Linked DNA regions of Homo sapiens: region 1 is linked to region 2. Evidence: promoter capture Hi-C in human tissues and cell types (Jung and others, 2019). All regions are on one chromosome and are shown on one strand. The core of a region is centred on a gene start or on the middle of the fragment in contact, and the rest is flanking DNA. Distances in the headings are between cores, read along the strand shown. Region 1 overlaps SEZ6L (seizure related 6 homolog like). Region 2 holds the start of ASPHD2 (aspartate beta-hydroxylase domain containing 2).

What was found. The method cuts DNA at HindIII sites, captures the fragments that hold promoters and counts their contacts. A contact is called where the count stands out against the background at its distance.
Region 1: a contact is called between a fragment that was not itself captured here and the fragment with the promoter of ASPHD2 in region 2, in 1 of the 25 tissues and cell types used here (H1 embryonic stem cells).

Annotation. Positions count from the first base shown.
Region 1 is chr22:26,378,757-26,384,256 of GRCh38, forward strand. It overlaps SEZ6L (seizure related 6 homolog like), which reads left to right. Exons shown (of 17, transcript NM_021115.5): 17 at 1,510-4,840. The coding sequence ends at 1,539. Among named protein-coding and RNA genes, the nearest start is that of ASPHD2, 48 kb to the right of the region's middle. The HindIII fragment of the contact is 9,503 bases long and covers 1-5,500 here.
Region 2 is chr22:26,425,157-26,430,602 of GRCh38, forward strand. It overlaps ASPHD2 (aspartate beta-hydroxylase domain containing 2), which reads left to right and starts at 4,104. Exons shown (of 4, transcript NM_020437.5): 1 at 4,104-4,330. RefSeq lists silencers at 3,945-4,074, 4,195-4,254. The HindIII fragment of the contact is 9,826 bases long and covers 1-5,446 here.

The DNA.
Region 1 (5,500 bases), core at 214-2,713, 49 kb before region 2:
AAAACCACCATCCTTCAAGTTCACTGTGTAATGATGTGCAGCCATCTCCCAACGTTTGGGGGGAATAAACCTGACTTGTTTCTTATCCTGCTAACCTTCCTTCACCTCCACTTCTCTGATCTCCTGTGTTAGTTATCCACTGATGTGTAACAATATTACTGCAAACTTAGGGGCCTAAATTAACAACATACATTTATTATCTCATAGTTTCTATAAGTCAGGAAGCCAGGCACAGCTTAGCCTGACCCCCTGCTTTATGGCTCACAGGCTACAAACAAGGCAGCAACTGGGCTGCAGTCTCATCTGAGGCTCAACCAGGGAAGGATCCACTTCCAAACTCACATGGTTGTTGACAGCATTCAGTTCCTTGCAGGTTGTTAGAATGAGGGCCTCAATTTCTTGCGGGCTGTCTTCTAGGGGCCACCCGCAGTTTCTTCCATGTGGGCCTCTCTATAGAGCAGCTCATGACATGGCAGCTGGCTTCTTCAGAGCCAGCAACAGAGAGAGAGTCATCTTGCAAGACAGAAGTCACAATCCTGTGTCATGCAAACATGGAAGTGACATCCTAGCACCTGTGTATTCTCCTAGTTAGAATCAAGTCACAGGCTTTACCCACCCTTAAAAGGAGGGGACCCCACAAAGGCATGAGCCCCAGAAGGTGGGGATCATGGGGACCACCTTGGGGCCTGCCCACCAAAATCCCATGTACCATGAAGCATAGATGTGATTGCATATCTGTGTTGGCTGAATGGGAGCTGGAGACTTTCATTAAAGCATGTGACAGTGTCAACTTCCAGGGCTGAGCCTTCTTCTATCTCCTTGCTCCTTGTCCCTGGAGCTTGGAATACATTACTCACACTCCATAAATATTGAAGAAATCAAACTACCCCCCATGTTGTAGTCGTTTCACATGGCAATGGTAGATCAGGGCATATGTTATTTTGCATTCTATGTAGCTTGCTTTGAAATCATGGGAAAAGGTCAGACTGAAATAAAGGAGAATTTTAGAGACTAGACATGAATGAATACTTATTAGTAGAGTGTATCAGTGACCTAGAACTATAGTAATGCTGAGTAACAAAGATCTCTGAACTCAATGGCTTAATGCAACAAGCATTCATTTGCTCATCAGTCTGTGGGACAGCGTTTTAGGCTTATTTCAGCTGGATGGTAATCCTGGCATTGGCTGGTTGATGGATGGGTGACTCAGCTCTGCTCTGTGTGTCCTTCATTTTCCTGAAGAGACTAAAGCCTACCAGGGCATGCCCTGTTCTTGGTGATGACAGATAGACAGGATGTGAGCAGAAACACACAAGCATGTTTCAAGCAGCTGTTGTACGCCATTTCCTTATAACCCATTGGCAAAAGCAAATCAGGGTCAGAGTGGGAGGGCACTGAAAAGTCACGACCAAGGGCATGGACATACAGAGGTGCAAAGAACTGCATCCCCCTATGTATATCACTCTACCACACAAGCGTTTGACAAATCCGTGCTTCTCTCTCTTGCAGGAAACCAGAGAGTATGAGGTTTCTATCTAAAGAGAGCTACACTTGAGAAGGGGACTTGTGAACTCAACCACAATCTCCTCGAGACATTCATCCAGAGACCATGTGGCACTTGATTGAAACCCCAGAATGTCGACTGTCTTTTGTTTAGACTCTTTATCAAAGGTTTACTGTTTTCTTCCCTGTATTTATTATATTTAAAAGTGAAATAGGTGTGGGTTTGGATGTTTCGCGGCCTCAGCCAAATTCATGTTACAGCCTCAATTCTGAAGGCAGGTGGAAGACTTGCAAAATGGCAAACCGCGGCAGCAAAAACACAAAACAGCAGATGGAGTTTCTCCCATCAGCAATGCCATGCTAAGGCTGCATTGAATTGCATGCATCTTTGGGAACCATGCCCATGATGTTTTCAGTACAAATCTAAGTCCCAAGATTAGGTTGGAAAGGGTATTTCTTGTTGGCTTAGTTTGGGTTGGAATTTAGCATGGGTACTTAAACCCATTTGGAGAGCTGTGCTCCTAAACAAATTCTGTGTCCTCTCTTCCCATTTTGCCAGCTTCTGAAAGGTTTTTCCACAGCCCCTCCCTCTCACGGTTCTTCTGAAGGTAGCAAAGGTGTTATATAAACATTGTCTTTTACCACTCTGGCCTCGCTGGACAGTGACAAAACAAGAAAACGTTTTCTTTCTAGAAAGGTGATAAACGACCAAAGGCAATTTTTCAGAGACAAATGAGAGATTTGAGAGTTCCAATGAAGAATTGGGTGAGGGGGATCATTGGGTAAGGGAATTGGGTTAAAATGTTCTTTTCTTTGACACTCTTTCAATGATGAAAGAGCGTGTAATTTATGCTACAAGTGCCAGAATCGATCACCATGTTCAGCAAGCCACTCTCAAGCTGTGGTAATAAACACACAGGCTTGGGAGGCACCAGCGGCCCCACTCATACAGTGACAAGGATTTGTGATGGGAAAAAGGAGGTGCCATGTTTGGAAATGCAGGGGTGAGCTCTGGTTTCTCCTGGGGTTCTGGAATATCTCAGCCCTCAAAATAGAGGAGACTCAAGTGCACTGATTCTCTAAAAGGTGTCATCTTCAGAATATACTTGCCATCAAGTATTTCAGGGGGCGGGAGGGTCCCATGAGAAGAAACTATTTTTCTATTCTCCAAAGCTGTCTGGATGTTGGAGGGTGGTGTGAATGCTGACTGAGGAGGTGCAGAGAACAGGGGCAGGGGATTTTAAATCACAGCAGACCATCCAGTGGAATCCTGTATCATCTGATCTGAACATCAATGAAGACAGAGAGAGGAATTTCATTCAGAAAGGATTCCATAGCCCCACATCTAGTCACACGGGCATTCCTCTTATTTTATCAGGGTCTGTTTTCCCCCAACCCAGTGAAACCGGTGAGTGTGTAACTCTTGGGAAGATTCTTTTCTAAATACAGGTATAAAGAGAAGGTGGAGGGTGCGGGTGCATGGAAGAAATACTATGTGTGAAGCAGATTCACCTTCCTGGGACCGGTGACATGGTGGTGACAGTCAATGGCTTGGACAGACAGACGGGCACAGTGGCATTTGGAACCCTCTTTGGTGCCCTCCCATTCTCTCTGGAATTGTTTCAAGTCTGCTGGTTTTCAAACAAGAAAAGACCTTTCTGGCCATAGGGAGAATAGCAGGGAGTCTATGTTTTGGTGGTTACATTGGAAACATCTTAAGCAAGATAGGGAAAGTTGATTTTAGGCACACATGTACCCTCCTTGACAGCAGGAACTCAGACTTCAATCTTGGGGGTCTAAGACCAGAATATTTTCCTTCTGCCAGAAAAGAATCTTGCACATATACTCCTGAAGGCATGAGTGTGTGGTCCATGGCAAGAAATAGCTAAAGGCTGCTTTCCAGGACCCAAAGCCCCATTTAATGCAAGAACCAGAGAAGTGTTCTAGGCCATTAGTGGACAATGTCATGTTTGGAGAAAGATAACAACACAAATAATGTAACCTTTCCTTAAAAGGCAGAACTCAATCCATTTTATTTGATGCTTATTCTAACCCTAACCCTGGGTCACCTGGAATGAAGAACTCTATGAATAATATTTGATTTTACAACGTGTTATGGTTATGTGAAAACTAAACATTTGCCTTTTATAAAGACTGACAAAATATAAATCTTTATTCTAACCCTATCCCCAAAACTAGCCAGGCCACACCCCAGATGTTCTTATTGACTATTGGAAAGATAGAAAAGGCGTTGTGTTTTTTGTTTTTTTGTTGTTGTTGTCATTGTTGTTTTTTTCAGAAGACCAGTGTCTCAGTTCTGTCTTAGTAGTACCACACCCGTAACCGTGTTTTAAAAGTTTGTTTTAGCCTAGAGACAGATCATACGAGTTCAACAATGTACAGTGTGATTGAAAAGACAGGTTGGTGTCTATTTTTCTTTTTAAAATATCTGAATGTGTATTTGTAATACGTAAAGGTAAAAAAAAATAGTGCCAAAAATGTGCAAGGCATCTCATTACAGCTCATGTACGTCTGTTTTTATAAGATCAATATTAAAACCCATTGGGATTAAATATTTTTGAATAGGATACACTCTTGAGAAACTCGAGAATGGACTGAGCCTTCCTACAAGCCACTCTTTGTTTTTAAAACAGTGGGGAAATACGTTTACAGAGATTGTGAGCTTCAGAGAATGCATGTGATGGTGTGTATTACATGCTAATTCATATAAGCTGTATCTGTCAGCTACCACCCTGTGCTTTAAAAATGCACACACTCAACCCTCTTTAGCTTGGAGCTCAGCTTTTTGCTTTTTTTTTTTTTTTTTTGTAGAATTATTTAGCTAACATAAGTATTCTGATTGCTACCTGATGGCCATTCTTACTTAGTTTCATAGATGTGCTTTAACTATGATCCTTTGAAGCTCACCCCTTGGAGAGCCTACAGAACCTCAGGCTGATAGCTTTGAAGACTGCCAAACAGCCCAGAAGGAAGCAAAGCATCTGCATAATCAGGAGGGTTGTATAACAAGTAGTGATTTGGCAAATATGTGGGTAGCTTTAGGCTGAGGCACGGGCCTCAGGCAAAAATGCCCTTCGAGTGAATCCGAAGGGCATGATCTTCCTATGTCCTTGACTAGGCATGACGAGTCATTTGAGGTCAGATATTATTTGAGTTGTTCAGCACCCCCAAAGGTAGGCATTCTCCTGGGAAATTTTCATTTCCATTTTATCGCCAAACAAAATAAAAAGCAAAACAAACTTTCTAAGCTAGAATAATGAAATTAAGTCATTTTCCACTTTGTATATATTGATGCTAATAAAACAGATGAAAAAGACTCAAGTGTGTAGAATTTTTGTTACAGACACTTCAGGATGGCACCAAGTGGAATGTTTCCAGTTTCTGGGGATTGGGTTGGGGTAACACCTACAGATACTTTGAATGCTAAGACAGGACATCCCACTCTGGAATGGTTCTGGGACCTTCAAGGGATGTTTGGGACAAGATGGGTTTGACGGCACTGCCATCTTCCAATGTTCCACCATCCTCCCTCTCTTAGCTCAGCCTGTCATAAGAAAATACCACAGACTAGATGAATTAAACAACAGAAACCTGTTTCTCAAAGTTCTAGAGGCTGAGAAGTCCAAGATCAGGGTACCAGCCAATTCAGTTCCTGGTGAGAGCTCTCTTCCTGGCTTATAGATGACCTTTTTGCTGTGTCTTCACACAGTGGAGGGAAGGGAAAAGGCAGGAAGGAGGGGAGGAGAGGAAGAGAAAGAGGGAGAGGCAGCTGTTCCTCTTCTTAAAAGGCCACAGTCTTATCAAATGAGGTCCAACCCTTATGACCTTATTTAGCCTTAATTACCTGCTAATGGCCTTATCTCCAACTACGGTCACATTGGGGGTTAGAGCTTTAACACATGAATTTTGGAGGGACGCAGCTGTCTATAGCATTGCACACCCGGCACCCCCAAAATGTATGTCCTTCTTGCACGCA
Region 2 (5,446 bases), core at 2,854-5,353:
TTGCCTACTGCTCCCAATTCCTTGTTCCTTCTTGGTCCCCCCTGAAGTTACAACTCTTAGGAATTTGGTGTGCTTCCTCTGAGGGATATTATCTGCATTTACAAACGTAATTATTTTGCATTTTATATAGGAGAACATACTAGTGTGTTCTTCTAGTGCTTTCCCTGCTTTTATATAAATACATGTGTATACCCACATGTGTACAGGTGCGTGTTATGTAGATAAAATCATACTACAATCATAATTCTGCTTTTTTTTTAATTTTCACCCTATTATTTTTCTAGGAGCTTTATCCACGTTGCTATATATACATCTAGCTCCTGCTTTTAGTAGCTTCACAGTATTACGTAATATGAAAAAACAACTAGTCTTCCATCTATCCCAGAATCCCTCTAGGTTAGATATAGCATAGCGAAATTGTTGGTTTCAGTGTATACATATTTGTTGTTGTTTTAAGGAATACTACCAAACTGCTCTCCAAAGTGATCATACCAGTTTCTTTAATGCACCAAGCAAGCACATCTCCCTCCCTCCCTCCCTTCTTTCTTTCCTTCCTTCCTTTCCTCCTTCCCTCTCTCCCTCCCTCCCTCTCTCTTTCTTTCTTTCTTCTTTCAGAGAGTTTTGCTCTGTTACCCAGGCTGGAATGCAGTAGTGCAATCTCAGCTCACTGCAACCTCTGCCTCCTGGGTTCAAGCAATTCTCCTGCCTCAGCCTCCAGAGTAGCTGGGACTACAGGCGTGCACCACCACACCTGTAGTTAATTAATACAAAAATTAATACAAAACTTTTTGTACTTTTAGTAGAGACAGGGTTTCAACATGTTGATCAGGATGGTCTAGGACTTCTGACTTCAGGTGATCCACTGGCCTCGGCCTCCCAAAGTGCTGGGATTACAGATGTGAGCCACCACGGCTGGCCGCAAGCACATTTTCCACTGACTTGCTGCAACCTTGATTGAGCAAGGCATGTTTTCTCTCTGGGCTTCCATCTGTAGGAGGAGGGAGTTGAGTGGACCCCGTGAGTGTATGAGACGGTGTAATGATAGGTTGTGTAGTCTCGGAGTGGGTAGGATGACTGCGCTAAAGAAGGCAGCGAGAGCAGGAGGATGCAGGTGGCAGCCAAGCTGAAGGCAGGCAATTCAGATGCCCTTGGTCCTCCTCTCCGCCTCTCCATGAGCACAGTAACAATTTATCTGGAGCTCTCACCCAAAATCCCCCTCTGAAAGGCATGGATATCCTTTTCTGCAGAATTCACCTAGTAGGGTCTCCAAGGGGTTGACAGAGGCCCAGGTCATTTCCATTTATTGAGACTCCCAGCTAATTAAAAAGATGAAGAAATGGTAAGCAGGGCTAACAAAATTGCGTGTATAGTAATATTGCCATTGAACAAATAAATACTAACAAATGCAGAGCAGTGGTCTACAGATATCATATAATTGCACTGGTCAAGGACACTTATAGGATTGATAGACAATATTAATTCATAATACAGTACAGATAAGATGGTGCAGGAATGGAACACATATTTACAATATAAAAATATCTTTTTTTTTTCAAACCTGCCAGGATAATGCTGTGATAGAATGTATGACTGCCTTTGGAGAATTCTAAGTTTGAGCAACTTTCTGAATGTGAGATGAGTCAAATACCCCCCACTCCATTTTCTCCACCCCACCCAGGCTCAACCACTCTTAGGCTGACAGTGAAGACAGACATCCCATTTAATGTTTCTAAATCTGATGCCTGTGTTGATTATCCACACTTTGAGCAAATCTGTGCATATTATGGTTTCCCAATGCAAGTGTTTTGGTTTATTTTAGTAGAATAAAAGAGAAAAAACATTCTTCCTCTTTTGGAGTTGAGAAAAGGAGAGAAATGACAGAGATGAAGAAGAGTCTAAGACATGGAAGAGGTGTATTCTGGGACATGGGAGAGGTGTACTCTGGGACATGGAAGAAGTGGGTTCTGGGACATGACAAACTGGGTTCTGGAACAGGGAGGAGGTGGATTTTAGGCTATCACAGTAGAGGCAGATTCTTAGGTCAGGGACCAGGTGGATTTTGGGACAGAGATGAGAGGTGGGTTCTGGGACATGGTGGAGGTGGGCTCTGGGACAGGGAGGAGGTACATTCTGGAACAGGGTGAAGGTGGCTTCTGGAACAGGGAGGAGGTGGGTACTGGGACAGGGTGGAGGTGGGTCTTGGAACAGGGAGGAGGTGAGTTCTGGAACAGGGTGGAAGTGAGTTCTGGAACAGAGAGGGGGTGGGTCCTGGAACAGGGAGGAGGTGGGTTCTGGCACAGGGTGGAGGTGGGTCCTGGGACAGGGAGGAGGTGGGTCCTGGGACAGGGAGGAGGTGAGTTCTGGAACAGGGTGGAGGTGAGTTCTGGAACAGAGAGGGGGTGGGTCCTGGAACAGGGAGGAGGTGGGTTCTGGCACAGGGTGGAGGTGGGTCCTGGGACAGGGAGGAGGTGGGTCCTGGGACAGGGAGGAGGTGAGTTCTGGAACAGGGTGGAGGTGAGTTCTGGAACAGAGAGGGGGTGGGTCCTGGAACAGGGAGGAGGTGGGTTCTGGCACAGGGTGGAGGTGGGTCCTGGGACAGGGAGGAGGTGGGTCCTGGGACAGGGAGGAAGTGCGTTCTGGAAGAGGGAGGAGGTGCGTTCTGGAAGAGGGAGGAGGTGGGTTCTGGAAGAGGGAGGAGGTGGGTTCTAGAAGAGAGAGGAGGTGGGTTCTGTAGCAGGAAGGAGGTAGGTTCTGGCACAGGGTGAAGGTGGGTCCTGGGACAGGGAGTAGGTGGGTTCTGGAACAGGAAGGAGGTATGTTCTGGAACAGGGTGAAGGTGGCTTCTGGAATAGGGAGGAGGTGGGCTCTGGGACAGGGTGGAGGTGGGTCCTGGGACAGGGAGGAGGTGGGTCCTGGGACAGGGTGGAAGTGGGTCCTGGGACAGAAAGAAGGTAGGTTCTGGAAGAGGGAGGAGGTGGGCTCTGGAAGAGGGAGGAGGTGGGTTCTGGAAGAGGGAGGAGGTGGGTTCTGTAACAGGAAGGAGGTGAGTTCTGGCACAGGGTGGAGGTGGGTCCTGGGACAGGGAGGGAGGTGGGTTCTGGAACAGGAAGGAGGTACGTTCTGGAACAGGGTGAAGGTGGCTTCTGGAATAGGGATGAGAAATGGATTCTGGGACAGACATGAGGTGGCTTCTGGGCCATGTTAGAGATAAATTCTGGGACACAAGAGAGGTGGGTCTGGGACAGAGACAGATGGATTGTGGGCGGGCCATCCTACTCTATGCTCCCAGAACCCACCCATGCAGTTTCCCTGGCGCCCCTAACACATCCCGTAGCCACTGTTAGTCTCCCCCAGGTCTTAGCTCAAACGTCACCTCCTCCAAGCAGCCTCCTTGGGGCCTCCATTCGCAGCTCATCAGTCCCCTGGTCAGACAACCGTCCTGCCTGTACTTCCCCTCCTAAACCCTACCCGGGGGTGAGGGTCCCCTCCCGCTAGACGGTGGCTCACTGAGGGCAGGGCGGGCCTGAGCGCTCACCGCGCACGCTCAGCGCAGCTGGCAGGGACGGGGACCCAGGCTGGCCCATCATTACTGTACTGAGCGAATGAGTTTTCCATGAGACTAAGAATCTGGTTTGATTTGCGGTTCCATTCCAAGTGCCTGAGGGCCTCAGAAGTCCGTGTTGAGTCCATCAATAAAGGAAAGAAGGCGTTAGGGCGAGAGGAAGTGAGGTGGGGGGGAAGTGAAAGAGAATGAAAAGGAGGAAATGGAGACGAGGGCGACTCAGAGAGGAACAGAGAGACAGAGGGAGGGAGAACTGAGAAAGACACAGAGCGAAAAACGAAAGAGCGAAGGAAGCGACGCGAGCCTTTCTTAATGAATGACTGCACGCCCGTCGCCGCCTGCGCGCAACCTCGGGCTGGGCGGGCGCTGCGTCTCGGGGCGCACTGCCAGGACCCTCCGGAGCGGCGGCGGGCGCGGCCTCGGGTCGCCTCCCGCACTGCGAGCGCAGGTGCCGGGTGCAGGGGGGTCCCCGGCCCCGCCCCGCAGGCCCCGCCCCCCCGTACCCCCTCCCCCGGCGGCCCAGCGCGCGCGGCATTGTGGGAGTTGTGGTCTTCGCGGCCCCGCGGAGCGCAGCGCGGCGTCGGCACCGGCAGGGGCACCGGCGCGGCTTAGGCTCGGGCTCGGGCTCCGGCTCGGGCTCCCGCGGCGTGGGCTGGGCAGCAGCCAGGCGGCGGCTCCGCGGCGCCGGGCAGGGGCCGTCCGCGGGTCCGCGCCCTCGGGCGGCGGCGTCTCCTGGGTCCCGGCAGCCGTCCGCGCGCCCGGGCGCAGGTAAGCTTCGTCTCCGGGGGCTGCCGGGGCGGGAGGGCGGCGCGGCTGGGCCGACCCCAGGACAGGGGTTGGAGGCGGGAGCCCGGCAGCTGCAGGCCCACGGCCCTCCCTTACCGGCGCCGCCGCCGCCGCCGCCCCCGCCGAGGATGCTCCGGGACCCGGGCGCCCGCATCCCGGCCCGGCCGAGGCCAGTGCTCGTACGTGCTAAGCGCCGCCGCCTCGGAGCCGGGCATCACCCTCCCTAGACCTCCTCCTACTCCTCTTCCCTGCCCCATCGTGGTCCCTTCCTCCATCTCCCTTCTCCCCTGTGACCCCTCTTTCCTCACCTCCTGTCCCCTCCCCCAGCCCTCAGCATCACCCACTTCCCATATTTCACGTGGTGACCCTCCTCCCCTGTCCCACGAATTATGAGGCGCCATAAACCTCCTTCCACAATCTTGAGCTGATCGTCCACTTTTCCGGGCAACACTCACCTTTCCATCGTCCCATCCCCCTCCTCCCCTGACCTCCTGGTGGTCACCATCTGTGCTAACCCATCTTCAGCCCTCCCCTCTTTCCCACTCTCCAGGGCAGGTGGGTGCTGAGAAGCTGGCCAAGAGAGGGAAGGTCCCCAGGTCTGCACCGGGAAGGGCTGGCCCCACGGCATCTCTCTGGCTCCTGAGTGGAGAGGGTGACAGGCATCACACACCTTGCCCAGTGCTGCTCACTGGGGGGCTTCCAGGGTGACTTGGCCTCATCCTGAGGGTGAGCAGACACTCTTTGGCATTAGGCAGCCTCTGGGAATGGACATCTGAACTAGGCTGACCAGGTCAGGCCTGACACCGGCTCTCCCAGGTGTTCATGGTGTGAGAAGTTGTCTTGGATTGGACTTGCTCTCCAACTGGCCATGGATTTGGACTCAATTCCCCAGAGCCAACTGAGCTGGAAGATCTGGGGTTGCTTATTATTAAAGTGCAGAGCTGCAATGAGATGTCCCCATCCCTGATGAGGACAGAAATAACACAGATGACAATGAACAGATGTGCGAAGGAAGCTGGAAGCTACTGTGGTCACTGGGCAAGGAGCTGTCGGGGGAGAGAGTCTCTCCTCTCCCCACTGGGTAGATGGGGAGTTGTC